Regions from separate parts of the Homo sapiens genome. Here region 1 is linked to region 2. The links are contacts of gene promoters, found by promoter capture Hi-C in blood cells and fetal thymus (Javierre and others, 2016). All regions are on one chromosome and are shown on one strand. The core of a region is centred on a gene start or on the middle of the fragment in contact, and the rest is flanking DNA. Distances in the headings are between cores, read along the strand shown.

Region 1 (6,493 bases), core at 313-2,812, 610 kb before region 2:
AATCATGTTCCTTTCAGACTACCAGATTAGGGCTTGGCATGGGAAGCTGAGATAGCTGGGGGCTTCCAAGCCCCCAAATTCCATACTCCTCGGATAGGACTGAGGTCACTGCTGTGGGCTGAGGTTTTTCTCTCCTTAAGATGAGAAGATCCATTAGGGCAGAGCCATGTCTCTCCCCTTCCCCTCTTCCCCTAAAGCTAAGGCTGTCTGTGAGGAGGGCCAAATGCCTCCCATCAGACTGGGCTTCCAGGAGGCCAGGGCTGAGTCTCTTCCTTCACCTGGAGATCCCTGGGGAAAGGCTGTGTCGCCTCCCTAGACTGCAGTCCCCTGGGCCTGGGCCATGTTTCCTTACCTTAGACTGAGGCTGTGGGAATGTGGGACTACATTTCTACCACAGGCTGCAGCTCCCTTAAGCATCCATTTTTTTTCCAGTCCCTTTTGTCACCCAGTAACCCTGAAGCTTTTCCCAAGGTAGCCCCCTGTATTCTACCTGTCCGCGCTGGAGGAACAAGTCAGCCCCTGTGCCTTTCCTGGCAGCTGGGCATAGGACAGGGCATCAGGGATGGGAAGCAGTGTTCTGCCAACGACTTTCTGGGTTGGGCAGGGCTATGCTTCTCTGCAGGGGACTGAGTGTCTCCTTGTGAAGCCTGCAATCATTGGAGATGGCCACAAGATGTCAGCTCGAGGCTGTGGAAATGGCTCCAGTCCTGGGACTGAGCTCAAAAGGAAGGAAATCAGACAGCAGCCTGAAAGGCCCCCTCTGTCCCCCACTCAAACTCACAACAATGCTCCATCTCTCTACTTTGTCCCCAGTTCTTTGCTCCCAGAAGAGTGGGTTCTGAGGCTCCTTGACTTCCAGCTCTGGGAAGGATGGGAGCTGCTGCCCCTATTGCAGGCACCCTTGCTGGGAAGAGCCCTGTGTGCCTGTGTTCCCCTGTGTGTCCTTGTGGGTGTGGCTTCAGGCCACCACAGCCAGTGTGAGTGCTCAGGGCTGCCTGCGTTTGTGTGCAACTCTTGGCAGGAATTTGTGTCTGCCACAATAGACAGAGAAATTCAGACCTGAAAGGGCCCTTCGAAATCTCCCAGTTCAACCTGTTGTTTTATAGATGAGGAAACAGAGGCCCAGAGAGAGAGAGGAAATGGCTTGTCCAAGGCCACACAGCAAGTCCATGTTGAGCTGTTCCTGGAACCCAGGACTCCCACTTTGCAGCATGTGTGTGCACCCATCTGGGAGTCTGGTTGACCAGGACTGTGTGCCTGGTGTACTTTTGTGTTAGTGATTTACATCCAATGGGTCCTGGAAAGTTCCCTGACTGACCATCAGCCTGCAAGTTTCCAAACAGAATCACAAGGAAATGGGAAGAAGGAAGGCATGGAAAGGAAGGAGGGAGAGACAGAGAAGTACATATGCATGTAGATGCACATCTCTTTTTGCTTCACGGGGACGGGGTGTAATGTCAATGGTTGGATGTGTCTGTATCTCCCTAGGTAAGTGTGCCTGTGTCAGATACCTTGATTCATTCTGGTGTTGAGGTTTGAGTTTGTGTACATGCATGTGTACACGTGTGTACAGGGACCCATTTGTGGGACTGCAGGGAGTCGAGGTGTCTTTGGGGAGGCGTTGGTGCTTTTGGCTGGGTACAGTGTGAGCGATGGTGTGTGCCGCGGTTGGCGTGCCTGTCAGTGACTCTGGAGCGAGCATCGGTCAGTGGCCACGTGAGTGACTAAGGGTGTCAGTGAGCATAAAGAAGAGGCTGCTCCCTCTCCTCATCTCTTTGTCCCCAATCAGACTGTCTTCCCATGGCCCCTAAGGTTTCAGTGTCCCTGCCCCAGTAGCAGTGAAGAAATCCTTTATCGGTTGAGGCACCAGCCCCCGTGTCGGGATTTCAAGGTTCCTGTCGGTTCCATCCATCTTCCGGGGCCTCCTGGTATTAGCATTGATCTACAGGGGAAATGGAGAGCGCGGCTGGGTTATTACGCACCCACCCGCCTTCCCTGGGCCGTGATTGAGTGCACACAGAGAATTTTTGAAACATGGCCACCCTAACTTATTCTGTCTTCCTGCCAATAGCGTGGCATGGGTCCAAATTACGGGTCGATACCAGCTGATCTTTTTATGTTAAACTGTGATGAAGTTGCTTCTGTGGGGAGATGGTATTAGGCCCTGGGTCCTCTTTTATTGGAGAACTTTTGGGATGGAAAAGGGAGGGATGGAAGAGTGGGCAAGGGGAGTGGTCAGTCGGGCATCATGGAGGGCAGGTAGTGTGTGCATGGGCCAGGAGCATGTGCATGCCCGCAGGGGAGTCAGAGCTCGCTGCACTGGCCCTGGGATTCCCGGTTCTTGCCTGATTTCTCCCCCTTGTGACCCTTGCCACACTGGGGACCCTCAGGGACCCCCATCAGACTTTCCATCGCTCGGCCAGCCTGCCCCTGGTGAGGCCCCTCCCTACTTCCCTCTAAGGATAGAATTCTGTTTTCCTCTAGCCGCTTCCACCCTTCTCCCCCACCCCCACTCTACACACCTGCACCATCAAACGGGTTTGTCTTTAACCTCCAAACAGGGAACTTTAATTAAAGAGACAGTGACCCCTTTTATGAGTTTGGTCGAGTTGGGTTTCAGGGCCCTTGTCACTAGTGGCTCACATAACCCTAACAAAAGCTTGAAGGCCCCAAGAGGAGCCGGTCTCCCTCGTAGACATTGTGGTGGGGGCACGGGTGGGATGGGGGTGGGGGCATGGAGAAGGGGGAGGCATCCTTGGGTCAGGATCCCCAGTGACTGCATTGGTGAGGTTGAAGGTTGGGGGAGGGGACAGGTGAGGGGTATAGGGAGGGAGCACTGACACTGTGCAGTACCTTTGGAGCGCAACCTCCCTGCATAGGACAGCCGTCTGGACCCCAGCAGTGTAGCGGCTTCTCTCTGCTTGAAATGGTTAAGTTTCCAAGAGGGACTCCTGCGAATGTCCAGGGCTTGAATCCCATTTGCCTATGGACTTGTATTATAAAACTTGAAGTCATCTCCAAGAGGAATAGACTGGATAGAACTCCAAGAAGAGCTGAATTTTTTTACCCACATACTTAAAGGAAAAGTGGTTTTATGATAAAACATAATTGCTAATAACTATAATAACACCATTCAACATCTGGCATGAAACACAAATTCTGTCCTGAACCTGAAGGTGCAAACACCGCACAGCATACACACTGCCAAGAAGGGAGCTGGCCCTCCACATGGAAGAGCTAAATTCAGGCCTCACTGGGCCCCCTGCTGTCCACATTCCCCACCCCCAGCTCCCTTAAGGACCCCAAGTGTAGACGTCTAGTGGGTTCGTGTTGTGAGTTTGAAGGGCCCTTATCTTACATCCAATCACCTCTTGTTGATTTTTAACCAAGGGCTTCTGTAGGTCCTGTAAGGGATGTTTGCTTGCCCTTTGATCTGGTACTTTGATATCCTTTGTGAATTCTTCAGCCTGGAGAGGGCTGCCCAATCTGCCACACTTTTTCATTCAACAAACATCAGGGGCTGTTAAAAACAACCAGTGTGTGATTGGTTATTTCCAAAGGGATGGGTTTTCATGAAGTGGGGTGCACTCCCGTTAACCAGAGGCTGATACATTGTCAGTTATCTGCAAAAGGAATTAGCCACCTAAATGGTAATCCAGGGTTGCTCTGACCAGAAACTAAGGCTCAAACTAGCTAATTTGTGGAGATGAGACTCAAGGCCAAAACTGAATGAAGAAGATTCTCAGCACGCCCTCCACTTCCACTTCCACCATCACCATGGGTTCCTTGCTCCTCCTGGTGACAAGTGTGGTGACTGGATAGGGACACTTAGGTGGAATGTGGGGACACCTGTGGGGAGTCAAATGACCCACAAGGGCATACAGACCAGAACTTGCAACGTCATCACACCCCAGGTCTCCACATTCCCACGCGTGGACCTTCCCTTGTGCACATGCGTTCCCATGTGTGGACCTTCCCCTGTGCACCTGCGGCGTCACCTACCCACGTGAGTGGCCTATGTGTGTGACCTCACCCACAGAGAGAGGTCACAGCCCCTTCCCTCCTCTCTAGGGGAGAGATCTGGAGGCCAGAGGGGCCGGGGAGTAATTGGTTTTGGCGTTTCCTACCTCCGCTGCCCGGGAAGCTTTCTCTGTTTCATCTTCAGCCTGATCAATCCCCAGTCATGTGCCTTTCCACATGGACGCCCCCGACCCCCCAATTCACCATGCTCTCGGAAACTTCGTTAGTGCCATTAATCTGCTGACCCAAGCAAATCACCAACTCTTCCTGCAACACAGCCTCTCAATCCCTCCCCCAGAGACCACCCCCCCAGGATCTCCAGAGCTGGCTCACTCTCCTCTACCTCCTCATGTTCCCACTCACCCTTTTCTGTTTGGTACCCACCCCCAACCCCATCACTCCCAATCTGGGATTCTCCTTCCTCCTCATTCATGTCTGCACACTCAGCGCTTTCTGAGTCTTTTCCTGCATGTGTGTCCCAGCAGGAGCTTAGTCCGTGTCGGCCACCGGCACCCTGAAGCTGAAAGGGTCCCACGCACCTGCTCCTTAGTAGTAGAGGGTGTAGGGTAAGGCTCTGGCCATAGGAACCATATAAGGAGGAAACTAACAGGTACTGAGCCCTTACTGTGTGCCAAGCACTGTGCCAGACCCTTTTACCCAGTTAGATTATTTAATCCTCACAACCCAAGAGGCAGTCATTATTTTCTCCATTTTATAGATGAGGGAAATTGAAGTTTGAGAGATTAATTATTTGCTCATGAGTAGTAGAGCTAAGATTGGGACCCAGATCTGCCTGACTCATAAACCATTTTTTCTGCTGTATAGAAAGGAAGAGCACCCCCATCCTTGAGCCAGGCCCTAAGACCTAGAAACTTCCTATGTGAAGGAGACCCTGACATGAGGTTTGTTTCTCCTTTTTCCTCTGTAATAGCTAGGTCTTGAGGTGTGTGTGTGTGTGTGTGTGTGTGTGTGTGTTCCTATCCTCTTCCTTTCAGCCTAGGAAGCATTCATGGTACCAGCCCCCTGTTGGGGGCCCCAGGTTGCAGGCTGGTGCCAGGATGCACCCCACTCAGCCGGCTCCTGGCCGCACAGGAGAAGGCCCTGTTTCCTCCGTGGCCTCCATGGCTGATGTGCTGGGCCCATTGTCCAGGCAGAAACAAAGACTGCGGATTTAAGCCGAGTGACCAGGCGGCTCTGCCAAGCAGAAAAGACCGCCCCCCTCGAAGCTGGGCCCAGCCGGGGGTTAGGAAGGGGACCCGAGAGAAAGGGGACAGGGAACCTTTGAAAGTAACTAATTAAAGGGCCTTTGCCTGCCCCCTCCCCCTGGGCGCCTAATCTCTCTGGGGCAGCAGCCAGACAATGTGCCCCTCCACCCTGCCCCCCTCACCCGAGTTTTAAAACAAGAGACAACTTGAAGTTAATGAGCGCCACCTGACGGGGGTCCCCTAATGAGAGGGGGCTGCTGGGCAGCTCACACATTCTCTGGTTCCATGAATAGCTCCCCCCGCCCCCTGAGTTTTATTCATCTAGGGCCAGGGGCAGGGGGCAGAAAGGAAGGGGCCCTGCTCAGCTCGGAGCATGTGGACTGTGGTTCAGGGCAAGGAGGGGGCCCCACAACCCCCTCCCCCATGGCCCATGCCCAGCTCTGAGGCTGAGGCTTACCAGGCTTTGGCCTGAGACCTGGGTGGCCCAAGACCCATCTGGGTAGCTCAGGGCCAGCCCTGCTGCATAGGCTCTTGGTCACTGGCATTGCCACTGGCTTTTCCCAACAGGGCAGTGAGGCGTAAGAGGCATTCTTTGGGACTGCTGTACTTGGTGGTGGGGACTGGGGTCAGGAGTCATTTGGGAGCTGGACTGAAAGCCTCGCTTGCATATTTGGGCAGTTTCCACCATCTCTGCCTCATCCATCTAACTCCGAAGTCCTGGTCTTATCTCTGATTCCTCCATCTCTGATCCCTGCCTGGCTGCCATCCCTGAAGCCCTCATTTCCTGCTTCCCTAGATCTGTTCTCCATCTCTCACCCTTCCTTGCCCCCAACAGTTGTTCCTCTCCCAGACTTAGCACCTTTTGCTCCCAGAGTGGGCGGGCAGTTTGTAAACCTCAGGAGACAGGCCCAGCCTCCTTGACGGGGTGTGTGGGTCCTGCTGCTGTGAGTGTGGAACAGCCTGGGGAGTGAACAAGTGTGCAGAACTTTGGGGAAGATGGGAAAATTGTGAATGACTCCAACTCTCTGCCCTCGAACTTCTTCTGCCCCAAATAACTATCCTTAAACCCACTGCCCATCCCTGTTCCCCATCCCAACCTGCACTGTAGCCCGCAATGAGACGTAGAGAACCAAAGACCCTGACTTCTGATAAATCAGAGAAACGGGAACCCAGGGCAGCCTGGTCTTTGCTTTGAGACGAGGAGACAACCAGCAGGCCTCCTCATAGTGACACCACAGAATTCCCCCTACTACCCCAAAAAGGCAGGA
Region 2 (7,177 bases), core at 2,673-5,172:
AAGAGACTGTCCTTTCCTCATTGAATGTTCTTGGCACCTTTGTACTTTTGGTATTGACATAAAATGAGTTGGCTGTAAATGCATGGATTTATATATGTTCCATTGGTCTATGTGTCTATTTTTATGTCAGTACCATACTGATTGGGTTACCATAGCTTTGTAGTAGATTTTGAGGTTGGGCAGTATGATGCCTTCAGCTTTGTGCTTTTTGCTCAGGATTGCTTTGGCTCTTTGGGGTCTTTTGTGGTTCCATATAGATTTTAGGATTGTTTTTTCTATTTCTATTTCTGTAGAGCAGCAGTCCCTAATCTTTTTGGCACCAGGGACCGCTTTTATGGAAGACAATTTTTCCGTGGACGCGGGGGGATTTTTTTTTTTAATGGTATGAACCATATTTATTGAAAACATTATTTCTGGCCTTTCTCAAATTGAAGACTGCAAAAAATAAAAGCAGTGCTTTATTGAGTTGTCATTAACCTTGAGAGCAGTGGCGCTGCCTCTCCACGCTCTGGGGACGGTGGAAACCGTGGCTGGTGCGTGCCACATCTATCACACCTCGGTCTACAAAACAGTCCTGACGTCAAATAAAACTATTGTGGCCGGGCGCGGTGGCTCACGTCTGTAATCCCAGCACTTTGGGATGCCGAGGCGGGCGGATCACGAGGTCAAGGAAATCGAGACCATCCTGGCTAACACGGTGAAAACTCGTCTCTACTAAAAATACAAAAACAAAATTAGCCAGGCATGGTGGCGGGTGCCTGTAGTCCCAGCTACTCTGGAGGCTGAGGCAGGAGAATGGCGTGAACCCGGGAGGCGGAGCTTGCAGTGAGCGTAGATCGCGCCACTGCACTGCAGCCTGGGCGACAGAGCGAGACTCAGTCTCAAACAAAAACAAAAACAAAACAAAACAAAACAAAAAAAACAAACGCTCGTACATGACATTTACATTAGAAAAAGAGAGCTGAAAGTAGGGATGGGGGGATGGTTTGGGGATGAAACTGTTCCACCTCAGATCATCAGGCATCAGATTCTTGTAAGGTACGCAGCGCCGTAGAACCCTCGCATGTGCAGTTCACAATAGGGTTCCAGCCTCTGTAAGAATCTGATGCCACCACTAATCTGATAGGAAGTGAGCTCAGGCGGTTATTCTCACTTGCCCACCGCTCGCCTCCTGCTGTGCGTCCTGGTTTCTGATGGGTACTGGTCCATAGCCCGGGGGTTGGGGATCCTTGCTCTATCTAGAGAATGCCATTTGTATTTTGATGGGGATTGGACTGAATCTGTAAATTGCTTTAGGTAGTGTTGTCTTTTTTCTTTCTTTCTTTTTTTTTTTTTTGAGACGGAGTCTCGCTCTGTTGCCCAGGCTAGAGGCTGGAGTGCAGTGGCTGGATCTCCGCTCACTGCAAGCTCTGCCTCGCGGGTTCATGCCATTCTGCTGCCTCAGCCTTCCGAGTACCTGGGACTACAGGCGCCCGCTACCACGCCTGGCTAATTTTTTTGTATTTTTAGGAGAGACGGGGTTTCACCGTGTTAGCCAGGAAGGTCTCGATCTCCTGACCTCGTGATCTGCCCGCCTAATTCTTCTAATCCATAAGCGTGGAATATCTTTCCTTTTTGTGTGTGTGTCCTCTTTCATCAGTATTGTATAGTTTTCCTTGTATAGATCTTTCATTTCTTTAGTTAAATTGATTCCTACGTAGTTTATATTCTTTGTAGCTGTTGTAAATGAGATTGCTTTTTTGATTTCTTTTTCAGATTGTTTACTGTTGGTGCATATAAATGCTACTGATTTTTGTATGTTGATTTGGTATCCTGAAACTTTTACTGAATTCGTTTATTATTTCTAACAGTCTTTTTCGTGGAGTCTTTTGATTTTTCAATACGATGAGTTTTTATGTCTTACTTTTGTATCCTCTTCTGGGAATTATTACCTGCTCATGTTTGGCAAACTTCTACTCTTCTTCAAGATTCAGTCTTGAGTGCTACTCCTGGGCAGTGCTGTATTATCCAAAGAGTAGGAAAAAATGCATGCTTATGTGCCAGCAAAGCAGAGCCACCAGTTATGAGGCAAGAAACAAACAAAAAAGAAGGCTTGTAGGCTGTGGGAAAAGCCAGAACTTTGTAGTTTTGTTTGGTTATTGAGACAGGGCTTGCTGTGTCACCCAGGCTGGAGTGCAGTGGCAAGGTAATAGCTCGCTGAAGCCTCCATCTCCTGGGCTCAAGTGATCTCCCCACCTCAGCCTCTGGAGTACCTGGGAGTACAGGCATACGGCCACCATGCCCAGCTAACTTTTTTTTTTTTCTTTTTAAATTTGTAGTAGAGACGAGGTCTGGCTATGTTGCCCAGGTTGGCCTTGAACTCCTGTTCTCAAGTGAACCTCCCGCCTCAGCCTCCCAAAGTGCTGGGATTACAGGCATGAGCCACTGTGCCTGGCCTGTAGTTCTTCTTTAATCTTATGTTTTATTAATTTTGAATTATTTAGATGCCCTTGATGAGTCTTCCTTTCCCCGCAGTCGTCAGGAACTCTCTCTTGTTTCCATTTCCTTACACACTTGTTTCCTACCACTTGGCCTGAACCCTTCAAAAAAGTCAATATTACAAAAACTAAAACCAAATAGGTAGGAGGGCTTTTGTAGATTAAAATAGAGACAGAACCAAATGCAAGTGTGAAACTTGATTGCATCTGAATCAAAACAAGCCCCAAATATAAAATCAGTTTGTAGGGAAATATGGAGAACTTTAAATATGGATGTATATTAGGTAATATTATTGAATAATTAATGTTAATTTTCTTAGCTGTGTTAATAGTATTACGGTTATGTAGGAGGATATCCTAATCTTAGGAGATAAATGGAGATGTATTCCTGTTGTCCGCACTTTATTTTATTTTATTTTTTGACACGGAGTCTCGCTCTGTCGCCCAGGCTGGAGTGAAGTGGCGCGATCTCGGCTCACTGCAACTTCCTCCTCCTGGGTTCAAGCGATTCCCCTGCCTCAGCCTCCCGAGTAACTGGGACTGCAGGTGCGTGCCACCACGCCCGGCTAATTTTTTGTATTTTTAGTAGAGAGGGGGTTTCACCGTGTTAGCCAGGATGGTCTGGATCTCCCAAAGTGCTGGGATTACAGGCGTGAGCCACTGCGCCCGGCCTGTACTTTACTTTCAAATGATTGAGTGAGAATGGAAGGGCTTGGGCACTTTGAGAGAAAGAGAACACAAGCAAATTTGCCAACATGCTGAGACTTACTGAATCAAGGTAATAGCCATTATTCTTTTAACTTTTTTTTTTTTAATTTGAGACGGAGTTTCGCTCTTGTTGTCCAGGCTGGAGTGCAATGGCGCGATCTTGACTCACTGCAACCCCCGCCTCCCTGGTTGAAGCAATTCTCCACCATGCCCGGCTAATTTTTGTATTTTTAGAAGAGACGGGGTTTCACCATGTTGCCCAGGCTGGTCTTGAACGCCCGACCTCAAGTGATCCGCCCGCCTCAGCCTTCCAAAGTGCTGGGATTATAGGCGTGAGCGTCCACGCCCGGCCTCTTAACTTTTTGATAGGTTAAAAACTTACAAAAAACGTGGATAGAGGGGGTCTGTCTTGCCCACTAGACCGATATGGTTAGGTTAGGTTAGGTTAGGTTAGGTTAGGTTAGAACCCGACATTGTGCTCTGTACTTCCTAGCCATTCATTCGCTTCAAGTGCTCTGAAATTTAATTTAAAAAATCATAGTTGGAATCCTTTCGGTCACTTTCTCTTTCTCCCTTCGTTCCTCCCTTTCCCTCTTGATTCTTCCTTGAGGCGCAAACACCTGAGAGAGGCTTCTGTCCCTCGGCGGTCTCCGTAAGTAAGTGAACCGTTATTGGCTGGAGGGCGCTGACGTCTGATTGTTGCGCGGTCGCATTTTTCCGGGGAGCGCGGATTCGCATTCCCAATTTTAGGTGGCAGTCGCAACCCATACTATTCGGACAGATGGCACAGAAACCGCTGCGCCTGTGAGTGACCGTGAATGGAAGCCTCTCTCCCTGTGTCTCTTTCGTGTGTGTAGGTGACGACACGGGCGGGAGTCTTTCCCATGACGGGAAGGGAGAAGGAAAAGGCGGAGAGACACGGGGCTGCTGGGGAGCTTAGGTGATGTCTTTGCCTGGCCGGGGCTGACCTCTTTTCCTGGCCCTTTTCGCTTCTGAGGGGGTTTCTCTTGGCGACGCTCGTTCGGAGAGGCGGAAGCTCCCAGAGTTAGGCCTCCTCCATCTTAGGGGGCAGTCCTGGCCTCTGACACATCCTTTCCCCTTCGTTTCTCCTGACCCCATTTATTTACTCGCCAAATAGCCATTGGGCCCACTGATGGGCCCTGGGCAGTGGTGGACAGAGTAGATAGGGACCCTTCCCTGGGGCATTTTTTTTTTTTTTTTTTTTTTGCGAGGAGGAGGGGTGGGGGTGGTGGTGAAGAGAGGGCTTCATGCAGCAAGTATTTATTGAAGAACTGCAGTGTGCCGGACGCTGTGCTAGGTGTTGCAACAGATGGAGTTCCTGCTTTAATGGAGCGTAGAGTCTAGAGGAACAGGTACTAAAGAATCCAGATAATGGGCCGGGCGCGGTGGCTGAGGCAGGAGAATCGCTTGAACCCGGGAGGCGGAGGTTGCTGTGAGCCGAGATCGCGCCACTGCACTCCAGCCTGGGCGACAGAACGAGACTCTCAAAACAAAACAAAACAAAACAAAACAAACAAAAAACAATACAAATAATGGCCGGGCGCGGTGGCTCACGCCTGTAATCCTAGCACTTTGGGAGGCTGAGGCGGGCGGATCACTTGCGGTCAGGAGTTCGAGACCAGCCTGGCCAACGTGGTGACACCCCGTCTCTACTAATACAAAAAAAAAAAATTAGCCAGGCGTGGTGGCGCGTGCCTGTAATCCCAGCTACTTGGGAGGCTGAGGCAGGAGAATCGCTTGAACCCGGAGGCGGAGGTTGCACAGTGAGCCGACACTGCACCTCTGCACTCCAGCCTAGGTAACAGAGTGAGACTCCGTCTAAAAAAAAAGGAATTCAGATAAATGTAAAGTTACCATAGTGATAGGGCCAGGCGCAGTGGCTCACGCCTATAATCCCAGCGACTCCGGAGGCCAAGGCAAGAGAATCACTTGAGTCCAGGAATTCAAGACCAGCCTGGGCAATATAGCAAGGCCCCGTTTCTACAAAAAATACAGAAAAAAAAAAAAATTAGCCGGGCGTGGTGGTCCCAGCTAATTGGGAGGCTGAAGCAGGTGGACCACCTGAGCCTGGGGAGGTCGATGCTGCAGTGAGCTGTGATCGTGCTGCTGATCTCCAGGCTGGGTGACAGATTGAAACCCTGTCTCAAAAAAAAAAAAAAAAAAATTGCAATAGTGGTAACTTTTGGGAAGAAAATATTCGTGAATCTGGGAGAGTGCATAAGAGGGGTATTTGGCTTAATGATAGGAGTCAAGAAGGCTTCCCGAGAATGTTAGGATTGAGCCTTGGGAAATAAGAGTAATCCATTGCTTAACAGCAGGGTTATGTTCTGAGAAATGAGTTGGTAGGCGATTTCGTCATTGTGCGAACATCTTTGAGTGTACTTCCAGAGACCTAGATGGTATGGCTTCCTGTACACCTAGGCTAAATGGTATAGCTGTACGTCAAGTTACTGTACTGAATACTGTAGGCAATTGTAACACAATGGTAAGCATTTTTGTATTTAAATATAGAAAGGGTACAGTGAAAACACCTGGCCGGGTGTGGTGGCTTATGCCTGTAATCCCAACACTTTGGGAGGCCGAGGTGGGTGGATCACCTGAGGTCAGAAGTTCAAGACCAGCCTGGCCAACATGGTGAAACCCTGTGTCTACTAAACATACAAAAATTAGCCGGGTGTGGTAGCGGGCGCCTGTAATCCCAGCTACTCAAGAGGTTGAGGCAGGAGAATGGCTTGAGCCTGGGAGGCAGAGGTTGCAGTGAGCCGAGATCGCACCACTGCACTCCAGCCTGGGCGACAGAGCGAGACTGTCTCAAAAAAAAAAAAAAAGAAAAAGAAAAAAAGAAAATACTGTATACAGGAAAAAAAAAAAGGGCACAACCTGTGTAGGACACTTATCATGAATGGAGTTTGCAGAACTGAAAGTTTCTCTGAGTGAGTTAGTAAGAGGTGAGTGAATGTATTACTTTACAGTATTGTAGACTTTATGAATACTGTACACTTCACCTATATTAAATTTATTAAAATATTATTTTCAACAGTAAACCTTAGTTTACTGTAACTTTTACTTTATAAACTTTAAGTTTTTTTACACTTTTTGACTCTTGTTATAACACAGCTAAGACATAAAACACATTGTACAGCTGTACAAAAATATTTTCTTTATATCCTTATTCTACAAGCTTTTTTCTATTACTTTTTTTTTCTTTTTACCTTTTAAACTTTTTTTTTTTTTGGAGACAGGGTCTCACTGTCGCCCAGGCTGGAGTGCAATTGTGCAATCACGGCTCACTGCAACCTCAACCTCCTGGGCTCAAGTGATTCTCCCACTTCAGCCTCCTGAGTAGCTGGGACTACAGGCGGAAGCTACCACACCTGGCTAATTTCTGTATTTTTTGTAGAGAGGGGGTTTTGCTATGTTACCCAGGCTGGTCTTGAACTCCTGGGCTCAAGTTACCCTCCTGCCTCAGCCTCCCAAAGTGCTGGGATTACAGACGTGAGCCACTGTGCCTGGCTTTAAACTTGTTTTGTTGCAAACTAAGACACACACACGAGTCTAGGCCTACACAGGGTCAGGATCATCAGTATCACTGCTGTTCACCTCCATATCTTGTCCCACTGGAAGGGCTTCAGTAGTAATAACATGCATGAAGCTGTCATCTCCTATGATAACAGTGCCCTCTGGAATACTTCCTGAAGGACCTGCCTGAGGCTTTTTTACAGTCAACTTTTTTTTTTTTTTTTTGAATACGTAGGAGTGTACTCTAAACAGTAAAGAGCATACCATACTGAATATATTTTTTTTTTTTTGAGATGGAGTCTTGCTCTGTTGCCCAGGCTGGAGTGCAGTGCCGCGATCTCAGCTCACTGCAAGCTCTGCCTCGTGGGTTCATGCTATTCTCCCGCCTCAGCCTCCTGAGTAGCTGGGACTACAGGCGCCCGCCACCACGCCCGGCTAATTTTTTGTATTTT

The links. Contacts are between HindIII fragments. The CHiCAGO score rates a contact against its expected background, and 5 or more counts as called.
Region 1: a fragment that was not itself captured here is called in contact with the fragment with the promoter of CWF19L1 in region 2 in 1 of 17 cell types (fetal thymus); the score reaches 5.1 in fetal thymus.

What each region holds. Positions count from the first base shown.
Region 1 is chr10:100,872,828-100,879,320 of GRCh38, reverse strand. No RefSeq gene overlaps it. Among named protein-coding and RNA genes, the nearest start is that of SLF2, 37 kb to the left of the region's middle. RefSeq lists an enhancer at 4,633-5,299. The HindIII fragment of the contact is 2,199 bases long and covers 463-2,661 here.
Region 2 is chr10:100,264,383-100,271,559 of GRCh38, reverse strand. It overlaps CWF19L1 (CWF19 like cell cycle control factor 1), which reads left to right and starts at 3,922. Exons shown (of 14, transcript NM_018294.6): 1 at 3,922-3,989. The coding sequence starts at 3,967. RefSeq lists an enhancer at 5,942-6,191. The HindIII fragment of the contact is 22,053 bases long and covers 1-6,389 here.